Regions from separate parts of the Homo sapiens genome. Here all the other regions are linked to region 3. The links are contacts of gene promoters, found by promoter capture Hi-C in blood cells and fetal thymus (Javierre and others, 2016). All regions are on one chromosome and are shown on one strand. Each heading gives the region's core, a stretch centred on a gene start or on the middle of the fragment in contact. The rest is flanking DNA. Distances are from core to core; before and after follow the strand shown.

The links. The method cuts DNA at HindIII sites, captures the fragments that hold promoters and counts their contacts. A CHiCAGO score of 5 or more calls a contact.
Region 1: a contact is called between a fragment that was not itself captured here and the fragment with the promoter of BSN in region 3, in 1 of 17 cell types (endothelial precursors). The highest score is 5.9, in endothelial precursors.
Region 2: a contact is called between a fragment that was not itself captured here and the fragment with the promoter of BSN in region 3, in 3 of 17 cell types (endothelial precursors, erythroblasts and M2 macrophages). The highest score is 5.8, in endothelial precursors.

The regions. Positions count from the first base shown.
Region 1 is chr3:49,617,562-49,621,761 of GRCh38, reverse strand. All of the region lies in intron 1 of BSN (bassoon presynaptic cytomatrix protein), which reads right to left. Among named protein-coding and RNA genes, the nearest start is that of APEH, 55 kb to the left of the region's middle. The HindIII fragment of the contact is 3,385 bases long and covers 1-3,135 here.
Region 2 is chr3:49,635,024-49,639,499 of GRCh38, reverse strand. All of the region lies in intron 2 of BSN (bassoon presynaptic cytomatrix protein), which reads right to left. Among named protein-coding and RNA genes, the nearest start is that of APEH, 37 kb to the left of the region's middle. RefSeq lists enhancers at 309-808, 809-1,310. The HindIII fragment of the contact is 9,454 bases long and covers 1-4,476 here.
Region 3 is chr3:49,552,172-49,556,290 of GRCh38, reverse strand. BSN (bassoon presynaptic cytomatrix protein) reads right to left here and starts at 1,814. Exons shown (of 12, transcript NM_003458.4): 1 at 1,465-1,814. The coding sequence starts at 1,688. It overlaps BSN-DT (BSN divergent transcript), which reads left to right and starts at 1,925. Exons shown (of 3, transcript NR_038866.1): 1 at 1,925-2,250; 2 at 2,604-2,743. RefSeq lists silencers at 1,427-1,636, 1,707-2,006. The HindIII fragment of the contact is 4,717 bases long and covers 100-4,119 here.

The sequences.
Region 1 (4,200 bases), core at 194-2,693, 66 kb before region 3:
TGAGTGACAGAGCAAGACTCTGTCTCTAAAATAAATAATAAAAGAACTGCCTCCACTCACTACCTCCCACTCCTCTCCTCTCTCCCTCTCAACCTACCCCTCCAACCTGGCTTTTGCCCATCACTCCACAGACATTACTCAGGTCACAGTCAGTAGGGACCTCCACATCATCAAATCCGACAGTCACATCTCAGTTCCTCATCTCATTTGACCATCAGCAGCACTTGATCCTGGGTGATCACTCCCTTCTTCCTGAAATAAGTTCACTATTTGCCTTCGGGAATACCACCTTCTCCTGAATTTCCTCCTCCTGCCTGGCCACACCTTTCTAATCTCTTCTGCAGATTCTTCCTCATCTGCCAACCCCAGAACACCACTCCTTACACTGGAGAGACCCAGGGCTCAGTCTTTACACAAACGTGCTTCTGTGAGTACTCACAATCCCTAAGTCTCAAGACTTACCCAGTCTCAGGGCTTTAAATCCACTTTCCACTGATACCCACCAAATGTCTATCTCTGGCCCAGAACTCTGCTCTGAACTCTTCACCTGTCTAACTGCCAACTCCACATCTTCACAGAGATGCCCTGTAGGCATCTCCACCTTGATACACCCAAGCTGAGCCCCTGATCTTCCCCCTAAATGTGGGCCTCCTAGTCTCCCCCTTGGTGCCGTCTCTGCCTCCCTTCCTGTCTCATCCTAAGTCAATCCAGCAGTATATCTTGTTGGTTTCTGAAGCTGGCCACTACTACCTACTCCCTCCTCCTCACCCCACCTGGTTTGAGCCATTCTCAGTTGCCAGGATAAGTCTTTTTGTGTGTGTGTGTGTGAGTCTCCTTCTGTTGCCCAGGCTGGAGCGCAGTGATGCAATCTCGGCTCACTGCAATGTAGCTGGGACTACAGGCGCACACCAGCATGCTTCGCTAATTTTTTGTATTTTTAGTAGAGTCGGAGTTTCGCCATGTTGGCCAGGCTTTGAACTCCTGACCTCAAGTGATCCGCCCACCTCAGCCTCCCAAAATGCTGGGATTACAGGCATGAGCCACCAAGCCCAGCCCCAGAATAAGGCTTTAAATACACAAGTCAGGCCACTTCTCTGCTTTGCTTAAGCCTTGCACTGGCTTCCTTTCCCTCCCAAAGGAAAAGCCAAAAGTCTTACAATGGCCCATAAGGCCCCATGAGATTTTGCCCCTTTCCCTCTGGCCTCATCTCTGATTATCCTCTCCCTGATTCCACTTCCCTTATGCCAGGCCCACTCCTGACATGTGCATTTGGCCATTGGATTTGCTGTTCTTTGTTTTTTTTTTCTTTTTTTTTTCTTTAGTTTTGTTTTGTTTTTGAGACGGAGTCTCACTCTGTCGCCCAGGCTGGAGTACAGTGCTGCGATCTCAGCTCACGGCAACCTCCGCCTCCCGGGTTCAAGCAATTCTTCTGTCTCAGCCTCCCAAGTAGCTGGGACTACAGGCATGTGCCACCATGCCCAGCTGATTTTTGTATTTTTAGTAGACACGAGGTTTCACCATATTGGCCAGGTTGGTCTTGAACTCCTGACCTTGTGATCCGCCCGCCTCGGATTTGCTGTTCTTTCTGCAGACACTTGCTCCCTCTCAAGTTTTTGCTCTGGTGGCATCCTTTCAGGGACACTTACCCTGAATCTATTTAAAACTGTGCTTGTCTCCCCTGCCTCTTTGTTCTCTGTGGCACTGAGCACCTTCTGACCCATCATATAACAAATTTATTGCTTTTGTATATCCTTTGGGATCCCTGCATTAAACTGCCAGTTCTGTGTGGGCACAGTCTCCGTGTGCTTTCCTCACAGCTGTGTCCCAGGGCCTACCACAGTGCCTGGCACAAACTGGATGCTCAATATTTATTTCCTGAATGGGGTGACTGTAAGCACTAAATGACTCAGAGCAGTAAAATGTGGCCCCAAAGTTTTAAAGCTGAGGAAACACGGCAAGTGCCTGGCATGACACTCGGCCCTTCTCTGGGTCTGACTTCATGCAGGAGAGAACTTCAGGAACAATACCTAAAGTTCCTCCCTATAGCAGTTGGCTACACCCCCAGCCGTACCATAGAAGGCTCTGCTGACAATAATTGTGGTAATGCTGACCGAGCCCTCACCATGAGCCACCTGTCACATAGTAACTGCTTTAAGCCTCACAGCAAATTCACTGGATAGGATCTATTTTGCCCATTTTACAGATGAGAAAACTGCCACACATAAAAGTTAAGTAACATACAAAGCCATCATGACTTGCAAATGGTGGAGCTGGGATTCCAATATCTAGGCCACCAGTCCATGTCCTTAACCACATCCCACACTGCCTTTCTAGGGTAGCTGTAGAGGGGGTAGAAAGCATTGCAGTTTGGGTTCTTTGGATTATTTTTTCTGAAGAGCTGCTTACGTGGAAGCTCCCTGGGAAGAGGTTTCACCATTTTGCTCCCCACTATATCCTTAGGACCCAGCGCCACGCTTGGCATTGAATGGACACTCAGTAAGCACATGCACAACAACCAGAACAATGTGTGAACAGTAGAATGAGCTCACAGAGTGGGGCTGGGCTAGGGCCATGACACCATTCACCTGGGACTTAACTAGCAACGCTGGGAGACTCAGAGAGAAAATGACTCCAACAATAGATATTTATTCATTCATTCATTCAGGAATTCACATTTACTGACCCCTGGATTAGTTCCAGGCCCTATAATAGGTATTGATGGTATAAAGGAATGATATCTCTTCAATGGAAGGTGGGTCCACAGGTGTTCATATTTTATTCTTCACATCTTATACATGTTGTATAGGTATTCTTATATTCTTTATAAAGTCATTTAATATTTAATTAAAATATTTTTTTAAAAAATGATTCATATAGGAGTCCAGTCCTCCAAGAGCCTCTGGTCTAGAGTAGAGACAGATGTGCAAACAAATCCCTGCAAGACACACTGCTGCATGGTCCAGTGATGGACAGAGGCAGAAGTCTTTGAGGATGAGAAGACATTTAAACTGGGTCTTAAAAGATGAGCTGTTCATGCCAAGGTGACAGGGCATGCTAGGCAGAGGCAACAGCATGCACGAAGACCCAGAGGCACAGCAGAGCATGCTCAGTCTGAGTAGCTACGCAGGATAAGCTTGGAAGACGTAAGTCATTGGTGCTCCCAGCACCTAGAACAGCTCCCAGCAATCGTGTGATAGTGTGTGTTGAACTACCTGAGCTAATTGGGAAGCTAAAAGCTAAAATGAGCACAGCCTGTAAGGTTTTCACATAGGGGAATGTTTAGGGTCTCTTCAAGGAGAAGAAGATGATGAGGTAGGAAACCAGTGAGAATAAGGCACTGGCCCAGGAGATAGTCTGTGTGGCAAGAGGAAGGGAAGGTACAGCAGCAGGTATTCTGGCTTTGGCTCCAGGGAGGAGTGTTCCTTTTAATTGAGATGGGGAATCCAGGGAGAGAAGTCAATTAGTGGGTAAGAAATGGGAAGCGAAATCACAAAATCACAAGTTTGGGTTTGGTTTGGTTGTGTTGAGGTGGGGGTAGGGGGTAAGAGACATTAAGAGATGGGTCACAGCTTCAGTTCAATTCAGATAAGTGTAGATATTTTTATCTGGGAGAGTTACAGGTCTTGTTCACAGACAATTCTCAGGCTAGAAATCACCCAGAAAGCTTTGTGGGGAGGACCAAAGTTCATAGGAGTAGAGGAGATGTCAGAACCAGAGAAGTCAGGGAAAGGAGAAAAAAGAGAATGACCCCACAGGGTTATAGAAGTTCCCATGAGGAGGAGCACTCAACAATGCCCCATGCCATGATGAGTCTACGTATGTGAAAGCCGAGAAGTCACAGGAAGAAAGGCTACACCTATGAGTGCCACACACCATAAATGCCCAAGCCCTGTCCCAAACCAGTCCAGCTTGGGAGGGGCCAGTTCCTTCTCCAGCTGAACACAAGGGCCCACCGTGGCAGGAGCTCCAGGGGTCATAACTGTCTGTACCACACACCTGAACACACATTCCATGAGAGCCACAGTGACTACACCCGTCCAAGGCCTCCTCAGGAGGGAAGAGGTAAGCCCTCCAGGAGGCTCTTCTTAAGAGACACAAACAAAGGTCTCCGCCAAAATATGGCCGCTGGGCAGGAGAAAGAAGGGAATGAGGAAAAAGAGAGGGAGGTGTCCACAGGCAGGACCCAGCCCACCCCAAGGA
Region 2 (4,476 bases), core at 1,279-3,778, 82 kb before region 3:
CAGGCCGTGCACCGTGGCTCACGCCTGTAATCCCAGCACTTTGAGAGGCAGAGGCGGGCGGATCATGAGGTCAGGAGATCGAGACCATCCTGGCTAACATGGTGAAACCCCGTCTCTACTAAAAATAGAAAAAATTAGCCGGGTGTGGTGGCACATGCCTGTAGTCCCAGCTACTTGGGAGGCTGAGACAGGAGAATCGCTTGAACCTGGGAGGCAGAGGTTGTAGTGAGCCGAGATCATGCCACTGCACTCCAGCCTGGGCAACAGAGCGAGACTCTGTCTCAAAAAAAAAAAAAAAAAGAAAAAGAAAGAAAGAAGCAAGGCAGCTTTGTCTATGTTTGGGTAGAGAAAGCCAGAGAGAAAACAATTTCAGTCCCTGAACCCAGTCTAAAGACCTCTTTAGAAAGGTCATTCTTGGGAGGGAGGGGCTTATTCCCATCAAAGTGAGAGTTCCCCAGAGCAGGCCATTTCTACTCATCCAGAGAGGGACCCTGGAAGGGGATTACTCCTCAGAGGGGAAGCTCAGCCTCTGGCCCAGGGTGGCAGCCACAAATTCAGTTCTTCCCGTGGGTGCCCAGCCCACACCCAACGTCCCATCTCTCTCATTCACCTGGGCACTGCAGCATGCCCTGAGGTGAGACTTCTTCCTGGGAAAGGGAATTTAGGAGGTAAGGCTTCTTATCCTGCAACTTTGGGGTGACTGTCCCTGGGGTTCTGAATCAGGCTGAACAAAGGCACGTGCCAAACCGCCTGCACTCACCGCCAGAACTTTCCTTTCCCCAGCCCCTGTCATCCAGGCTGTGGCACAGGCATCTCACCTAAAATAGAACTTCTCCAAGAAAAGGCTGAAACGCCCCTCAGTGACTCATCGCCCAGATGGGTGCAGCTATTTCTATCCAGCCTCTTCCAGACGGTAAGGAACCTTGACCGCACCCTCCCCACAGCCCCTCCCAGGCTCAGGCCCAGCATGCAAGGCCTCCTAAGGAGGACACTGGCTGAGGGAGCTCTCTGAGGCCAGCAATACATCCCCCTCTCTGCCTCCCCGACAGATCCCCAGCAGTTTCCTGGGAGGAGCCCAACCTCAGTCTCTTCCTCCATACTGCAAGGCCCCTATCCCCACACTCAGGGGGATGGAGGCTGTCCACGGGGTAGGGAGAGAGATGATGGCTGTGCACCCCAACCCACCCGCCCACCCAGCCTGGGTATACATGAATAGTTCTGTGGCAGACTCCACTGGCCTGAGTGCCAGTACAGTTAGAGCCTTCCTTAGCTGCACACAGTGATGCCTCCTCATCAAGAGGTTGAACCCAGAAGGCTCCCTGTGGCTCCTAGGCCCTCTCCAAGCTGGCTCTCCATCAGAATCAGAGGGACTATCCTTTTACCAGTGTGACAAGAAGCCTCAGCTAGGGTTCTGCTGTCTAATACCTCCAAGATCCTGATCTGGCACATGGGCAGGAGATGTGCAGGCTACCAGCCACGAGCCTCGTGTCTCAGGAGCCTTCCTGGGGCTACCCTAAGGTGGACAGCTCTGTCAGACATTAGCTTTGAATGAGCTGACTCTTCTTGCTAGCAAGGAAGCCCATCTTGCCATCTCCAAGGACTGGTAGGGACCTCCATGGAAGCCCGTGCACCCCGACCCAGTGGGGGCCTAAGTGGCAGTAAGGATGGGAAGGCTCAGTGCAGTACAAGGTCAAGAGGTGGTTTAAGAGGTGGGGGAAGCAGAAGCTGCAGGAAGCCTTCCTACAGGCTTTGCAGGGAGCCACTGCCACCTGTCTGCTAGGGACTTGGAAACATAGGACCCTGTGGGCTCTGTAGCTCTGAGAGGACTTTCTCCCTGAGAAGAGTCTTTTTTAGCTGCTTCCTTACTCAAACTATTCAGTGTGCAGAAGGGCAGCTAAGGTGGCACTGGCCAAGGATCCAGAGGCTTGGGGCCCAAGCTGGAGGCTGTATGAACTCTAAGTTGAATGAGCAGCTGTGATCTGTCTGCAATGGTCACTCCCTGGTAATTCCTCCACTGGGCTCTGGAGCAAGGAGGGCAGTTCTGGGAAGAGCTTCTACATCTTCCCTGCAGGAACACTGGCTGCACAGAGTGTCTCAGCCCTCAAGGGTGGGACTCAGCCTTGCTTGCCATATCTGGCCCCAAAGGATGCTCACAGGGTGGAGTCTACCTCACGGTCACCTCCATGGCTGTCAGGAAGCTCTGAGAGCCCCCCGAAGTCACATGTTCTCTTCCCACTCGCCTCCTCTCACCCCCCCAGCAGCAAGGAAAAGGAAGGTTGCAGACGTCACTCAGCCTTCTTCCTGTGGAGAGCCCCAGCCCTACCAGGGAGAGCAGGCATTCAGTGTTTCAGATCACTCAGCACTGACATCACGCCTGATGCCGCATTTATGCTTTCCATTTTGGTACAAGTTGAAACATCACAGAAACAGCTCATAAAGGAGCCCTCCCTGCAGGTGCCAAATCTAGAGGTTCCTGGGAGGGCCCCACTGGCCAGTGTGACTATATGCCTTTCTGGGCTATGAGTCACTGGCCAGGTCTCATCAGGAGGAACATACCTTCCCATGCCCCCTGGACAACAAGGACAGGCCGATGTGCAGAAGGGCAGCTAAGGTGGCAGCTGAGAGGGAGGGAGTCAGGCCTAGCCTGGATACTCACCCTGGTACAGCAATAGACATGTTGCCTGCCCCATCTAGCACCTTACTGTCAGCTAGCTGACCTCAGGCTTAGGAAGCAGGTACCACAGGGTCCCAGTGGGCAGGGTCACACTGATCCAGAGCTGGACCAGCCAGGGGAGGCCTGTGCCAATCTATCAGAGCCCTGAGGAAGGTCTTGGGAACCTGCCCAACATCTGAGGTCAGGATCTGGGGAGTGGAGGCTGAACCTAATCGCACCTGGGGCTAGAAGACCTCACTGGCTTGGATCTCCACGAAAGGGAGAGGATCCGTCCCCTTGCTGATCCCTGGACACATCTGTCTCTCTGCCCTCAATATCTCTTAACTCCTCCCACACTGCTCTGGACAGCCCCCCTCCCGACCCAGGATGATCTGGTGTACCCTGTAACACACCCCATCCATGACTGGCCAACTCCCCTGCACCCTCCCCATACACACTCCTCTTAGTCACCAGTAACCCTCTCCAGGAGAGGCTGGACCCTTGGACTAGCCTCAACTTCTCCTTAAAATCCCCAGGACCCTTTGGTTCATGCCCAGCTTCCCCTCCTGGCTTCTGCTGCCCTCCCTCCAGGCCCCTTTATCCTGGCCTGCAAGTCCTTGGCCCTCGCCTCTTAAACTCCTGCTAAATGACTTCCATGGTCACTCCAGATGACCTGCAACCCACATGGGGCTGAGCTGCAGACCACTTCTCAAAGCTCACCGACTGGAATAATTAATTGCTGTACATTGCATTATATGTAAATTTTAGCTAAAAAAGAGAAACCTTAAATAAATACTGAACTCTAGTTAATGATACGCTTGAAGTGCTTAGTGGGAAGTATACTGATATCAGCGATGTACTTTTTTTTTTTTTTTGGAGGGGGACAGGGTCTGGTTCTGAAGTGCAGTGCCATGATCATGGCTCTCTGCAACCTCCACCTCCCAGACTCAAGTGATCCTCCCACCTCAGCCTCCCGAGTAGATGGGACTACAGGCATGGCGCCACCACACCCAGCTAATTTTTGTATTTTTTTTGGTAGAGACAGGGTTTTGCCATGTTACTCAGGCTGCTCCTGAATCCCTGGGCTCAAGCAATCCTCCCACCTTCGCCTCTCAAAGTGCTGGTATTACAGGTGTGAGCCACCATGCCTGGCCCACTGCAATGTACTTTGACATTCAACAAAAAGATGGATGGATAGATGGACAGACAGAAGAACAAATAGATGGTAGAATGGATACGTGATAAAGCCAGGAGAGGAGGGGTTCATTATAAATCCAGATAGTGGCTTTGTGGGTGTTCCTTGTACAATTCTTTCAACAATTTTGTAGGCTTGAAAATATTCATAACTTGAGGTTGGGGGTAAAAATGACTTGTCAACCTGGTTGTTCTGTTTTGCTCCACCCAGCAAGGCATCAAGAGCTCCTGTGATGGGCTCTTGGCAGTTGACTCCCCACTACTGCTCAGATATTCTCCCCTCCTGGATCCCTTGGCCCTCCACTTGCTGGCCTTTCTACTCTTCTTTGCTTATCCTTGCCAGCCACCTTTGCTGGGTTCTTCTCAGTGCTGGGGAGCCCAGATCCTGACACCTCTTCTCTCTGTCCACATCTCTCCTATGGCACTTTAAATGTCACTATATGCTTGTGAATATGAAACAAAAGTCTCCATCCCAACCTGCCTGTTTCATGCCAGGGTCTTAGATTTGTCAGGCACCTTCAACTTGGCAATGGCCCAAACAGAAAAATTCTCTATCTCCATCTCCTACCCTCCACATCCAATCCAATTCTGTCTGTTTAGCCACCCAAACACACCAGGAATCTATCATG
Region 3 (4,119 bases), core at 565-3,064:
AAGCAGAGCAGCCTGTTTGGTTATCAGAAGAGAAATGACAAATTCCCCATACAGGGAACTCTCAATAACAAGGTGTTTTTCCATTCAGCTACAGAAGCTTTCCCTTGGAAGGAGAACACTAAAGCCTGGGTGAGCCTCCCTCAAGCTAAAACCCAAACAGCAACTCAACATGCAGCAAAATGGACAGTGTTTGCAGTGCTAAGAGCTGTGTGCTATCCAACTGCATTACTATTATAGCTAGTATAAAATGGACAAATCCCACCTCTAAAAAGGATGCTCACAGGCTGACCTGTCTGCCGCAGGTTTCAAGCTACTAACAGCCTTTCATTACTGTTAGTTGTCTAAGAAATGACTTCTGAGGAAATAAACACACAAGAGGCACAGTCGGGCAGCCAAAGAATAAAAAATTATGCGTCCTCAGTTTATGTGCTTCCACACAGAAAAGCCAGGGCAACATATATCAGCAGACCCACATGGAGCTGGAAGCACCTCCCTCCCACCCCCTGGGGGTTTTGCTACTCCCCAAGCCTATTTGGTGCAAAGATAATGCCTTCCATTTTATCGTGTCATCTCTTAGTAGTTTTCCTGAGTTTTCAGTCTACTGACTTATTATATATTGGCATTCCCTTACAGCCTTCATTGCCACTTGACTGTTTTTGCAGGACCTGGGTTGGCATACATTTAAAACAAACTGGTTTCACAGTATTTAATCAGATATGTTCTGTTTAAAGCATTCTGTGTGGGTTTCAGCTTTTCCACTGGTTTGATCTAAATCATAAGGTAACGAGAACATATCTGGTGCTGGATGACTCAATAGCATTTTTGCTTCACCCCAAAATGTTTCCCTAAACCTTGGTGAAAGCACATGATCCTATTAGTATTGTTGGGCCTAAATAAGCACCTCTTGGTGTCCAGTGGGCAATTTTCCTTTCCCCCAAAGGTGATTACAGCCACTAAATGCCCAAGGAAAGCCCAAGACCAAGTTCATGGTTCAACTATTTTCATCTCTCTGTTCCTCGCAGTGACACTTATCTTCCCTGACAGCCACTCCCATTGTGCTGTTTTCTCGGCCCAGCACAATGGACACATGCAGACACCAGCAGACAGGGAGGACGTTTTCCATCCCATTGCTCTCCTGTGCGGAGGGACCAGGTTAAGGTTACATAAGCCCCTCCTGAGCAGTCAGGCCCGAGCGTTGGGGAGAAGCGAATTTGGGGTTCGTGACGGAGTCACGGTCTGCAGGCCCCGACTGACCCTGCGCTCGTCATCCTGCCACGCCAAGGCGGGGCAGCTGGAAAGGAAGGGCCGCTTCCCGCGACCACCCAGTTCACGCCAATCCGGCAGGGTTCAGAGTGCGGCCGGACGTCGAACCTCGCTGTCCACACTAGATCGCGGGATCCTGGGCCCGGGTCCCGGCCTCAGGCTGCAGCTCACCGCCCCCCGGGCGCCGAGACACGCGCTTACCTGCCCGGGCCAGGGCCGGGACCGGGGCCGGGGCCGGGGCCAGGGACCGGTGGTACCGCGGTCGACCGCGCTGCTCCCGCCGCGGGGAGCTGTCCGCCACCGGCCGGTGCTGAAGGCGGCTTTCCTGCGCCGGGGCCGGGGCCGGGGCCCGGGCCGGGGCCGGCGCCGCCGGGCGGCAGCGGCCCGTCGCCAGCGCCGCCCTCCAGGCTGACCTCGTTGCCCATGGCGGGCAGGCGGGCGGGCGGGGTCGGGGTCGCGCTGCGCCCGGGCCGGCGGCTCCCGGGCGGTGCTCACACTCTCGGCGCCGCCGCTGCCGCCGCCATCTCCCAGCTCGGCTCGCGCCGCCGCCTGCCGCTGCGCATGCGCGTCTCGCGCCCCCTTCCCTGCACACGCCCCCCTTCCCCTGTGCGCGCTCCCGCCAGCCTCGGGGTCGCTGGGAAACAGCCGCCGGCGCCCGCGCATGCGCTGTCCAGGGCCGACGCGGTTGTATCATGCTGAGAAGGAGCCGGGCGGGGGCCGGCGGGGCTGCGAGGGCCCTGTGAGGAGGGGCACCTGCCACTAGAAGCGGCCTCTGGGACGTCGCGCTGAGCCCTGCTTTGGAGTCAGAGGGGCTTTCCGCCTCGGTGAACTCGAGAGTAGCAACTCTCCTCCGGGTAACCGGAGTGCCACAGCGGGCAGGCGTCATAAGGACAGGCCTCGGAGAGGAGAGGGGCTACCCGAGAATGGCCTCAAAAGTATGCATAGGAGTTGGGAAGGCAGAGGAACAAGTGTATTCAGAGACGCAAGGTCGTAGAGGGAAGGAGAGGGAGGGTGCTGGGTGGTCGGGCCGGATTGTGAGGGTCTTTAAGGCCAGCTGGGGAGTGGAGCCTTTATCCAGATGGCGATGGGAACCATCTGGGATTCACACTGAGGAACTGGGAGTCTCAGGAAGCGCCCCGGGCACAGATGGAAGGTGTGACAGGGCTGTGTGAAGCCAGCTGGGAGGCCACCTCAGTCAGCCCTGGGAGAGTGACCTTGGGGATGGAAAAGAGGACTTGATGGTTCTCAGGCCTGGAGCTGTCTCGATGCGGGGCCGCAGGTTGCCTCTGCATTACCCTGAGAGCTTTCCAAATTACTTCCCCGCTCCCTCACATTTACAGCCGGTTTCTGCCCGCTACTCAGGATTGTCTGCCGTGGTGGCTTCTCACACAAGCCTGTACTTTCCTGTGGGAGAATATTTCCTAGGAGCCTATATTCCAGTTCATCTCTGACGTCATAAATCATGACTGTGTAGAAAGGCGTGAGTAACTTGAACCCATTTTACAAACCCATTCAATTCTCCTAATGTTGCGAAATATATCACATAGGGTGTTAGCAGTTCTAACTGAACCTAGAATAATCCAGGGATCCCAGTGAATGCTGATAGCCAGCCTGCTGGACAGACCGGTGGCTGTGTCAGTTCTTGTGAGGAGGGGCCAGGACCCTCCCTGGGCCTTCCCCTGTGCACTCCGAGCTGCTCCTCCCGACCTCTGGGATGGAGCAAGTAAGAGAAAGAGGAAATGCAGAGCCCCCACTTCCTGATATTTTCTCCTGACTTCATACCTCCCGTTTTCACGCTAAACTGCCTGGCCCCTCTGGGATGACCTAGGATGAAGAGAGCCTCTCTTCCTGCAGATGATGGTCCTTGCTGTGTTTCCTCCTGTGCTGCAGGATGTTTGATACAGCTTCGTGAGTGGTGACTACATGTGCACATTTAGGCTCCAAAAGAGTCTGCACCTCAGCCCCGATAGGACCCTTGGCAACTGACTTAGGCTCACTGAGCCTCCATTTCCTATTCTGCAAAGTTAGAATCTTAGTAGCTCCTCGAATATGGGGGATTGTAAGGGTAGAGTGGCTGATGTAGATATTTTATTTTTTATTCATTTTATTTTTTTTATTTTTATTTTTTGGAGACAGACTCTCGCTCTGTCACCCAGGCTGGAGTACAGTGGTGTGATCTCGGCTCACTGCAACCTCCACCTCCCGGATTCAAATGATTCTCCTGCCTCAGCCTCCCTAGTAGCTGGGATTACAGGTGCCCACCACCACACCTGGCTAGTTTTTGTATTTTTAGTAGAGATGGGATTTCACCATGTTGGCCAGGTTGGTCTTGAACTCCTGACCTCTGGTGATCCTCCCACCTCGGCCTCCCAAAGTGCTGGGATTACAGGCATGAGTCAATGCACCCAGCCTGATGTAGGTAAAACACCAGGACAAGTGCCTGGTATACTTATGACAACTCTGTTATTAGTTGTCTCCCTGGTGATGGTCTGGGATGTGGCGGTCTTGTGCCATATATTTCCTCCTGGGGAAGAATATGCTCACAAACACTATGGGCAGGCCAGTGGCCTGACCTTGTCCCAACCCAGGCTGTTATAGCTTCACAGACCCCAGTCAGTGTGGGTTGGGCTACTTGAAACAGGGGAAAGGATGTTTATTTTTTTGTTTTTGTAGAAACCACAGGAGCTATGGCTTTCCACAGATTTAAATCAACATGCCTCTGGTTCCTGTGTGGTTAATTAGCTCTACCCAGCCTGCAGGCTTGGGGAGTTGCCCTCCTCAGAGTGGATTCCTGGCTGTTAGCAGACCTCCAGGGTCTTTGCTGCCCTGGTGACAAAGGGCACAGCACAGTGGACC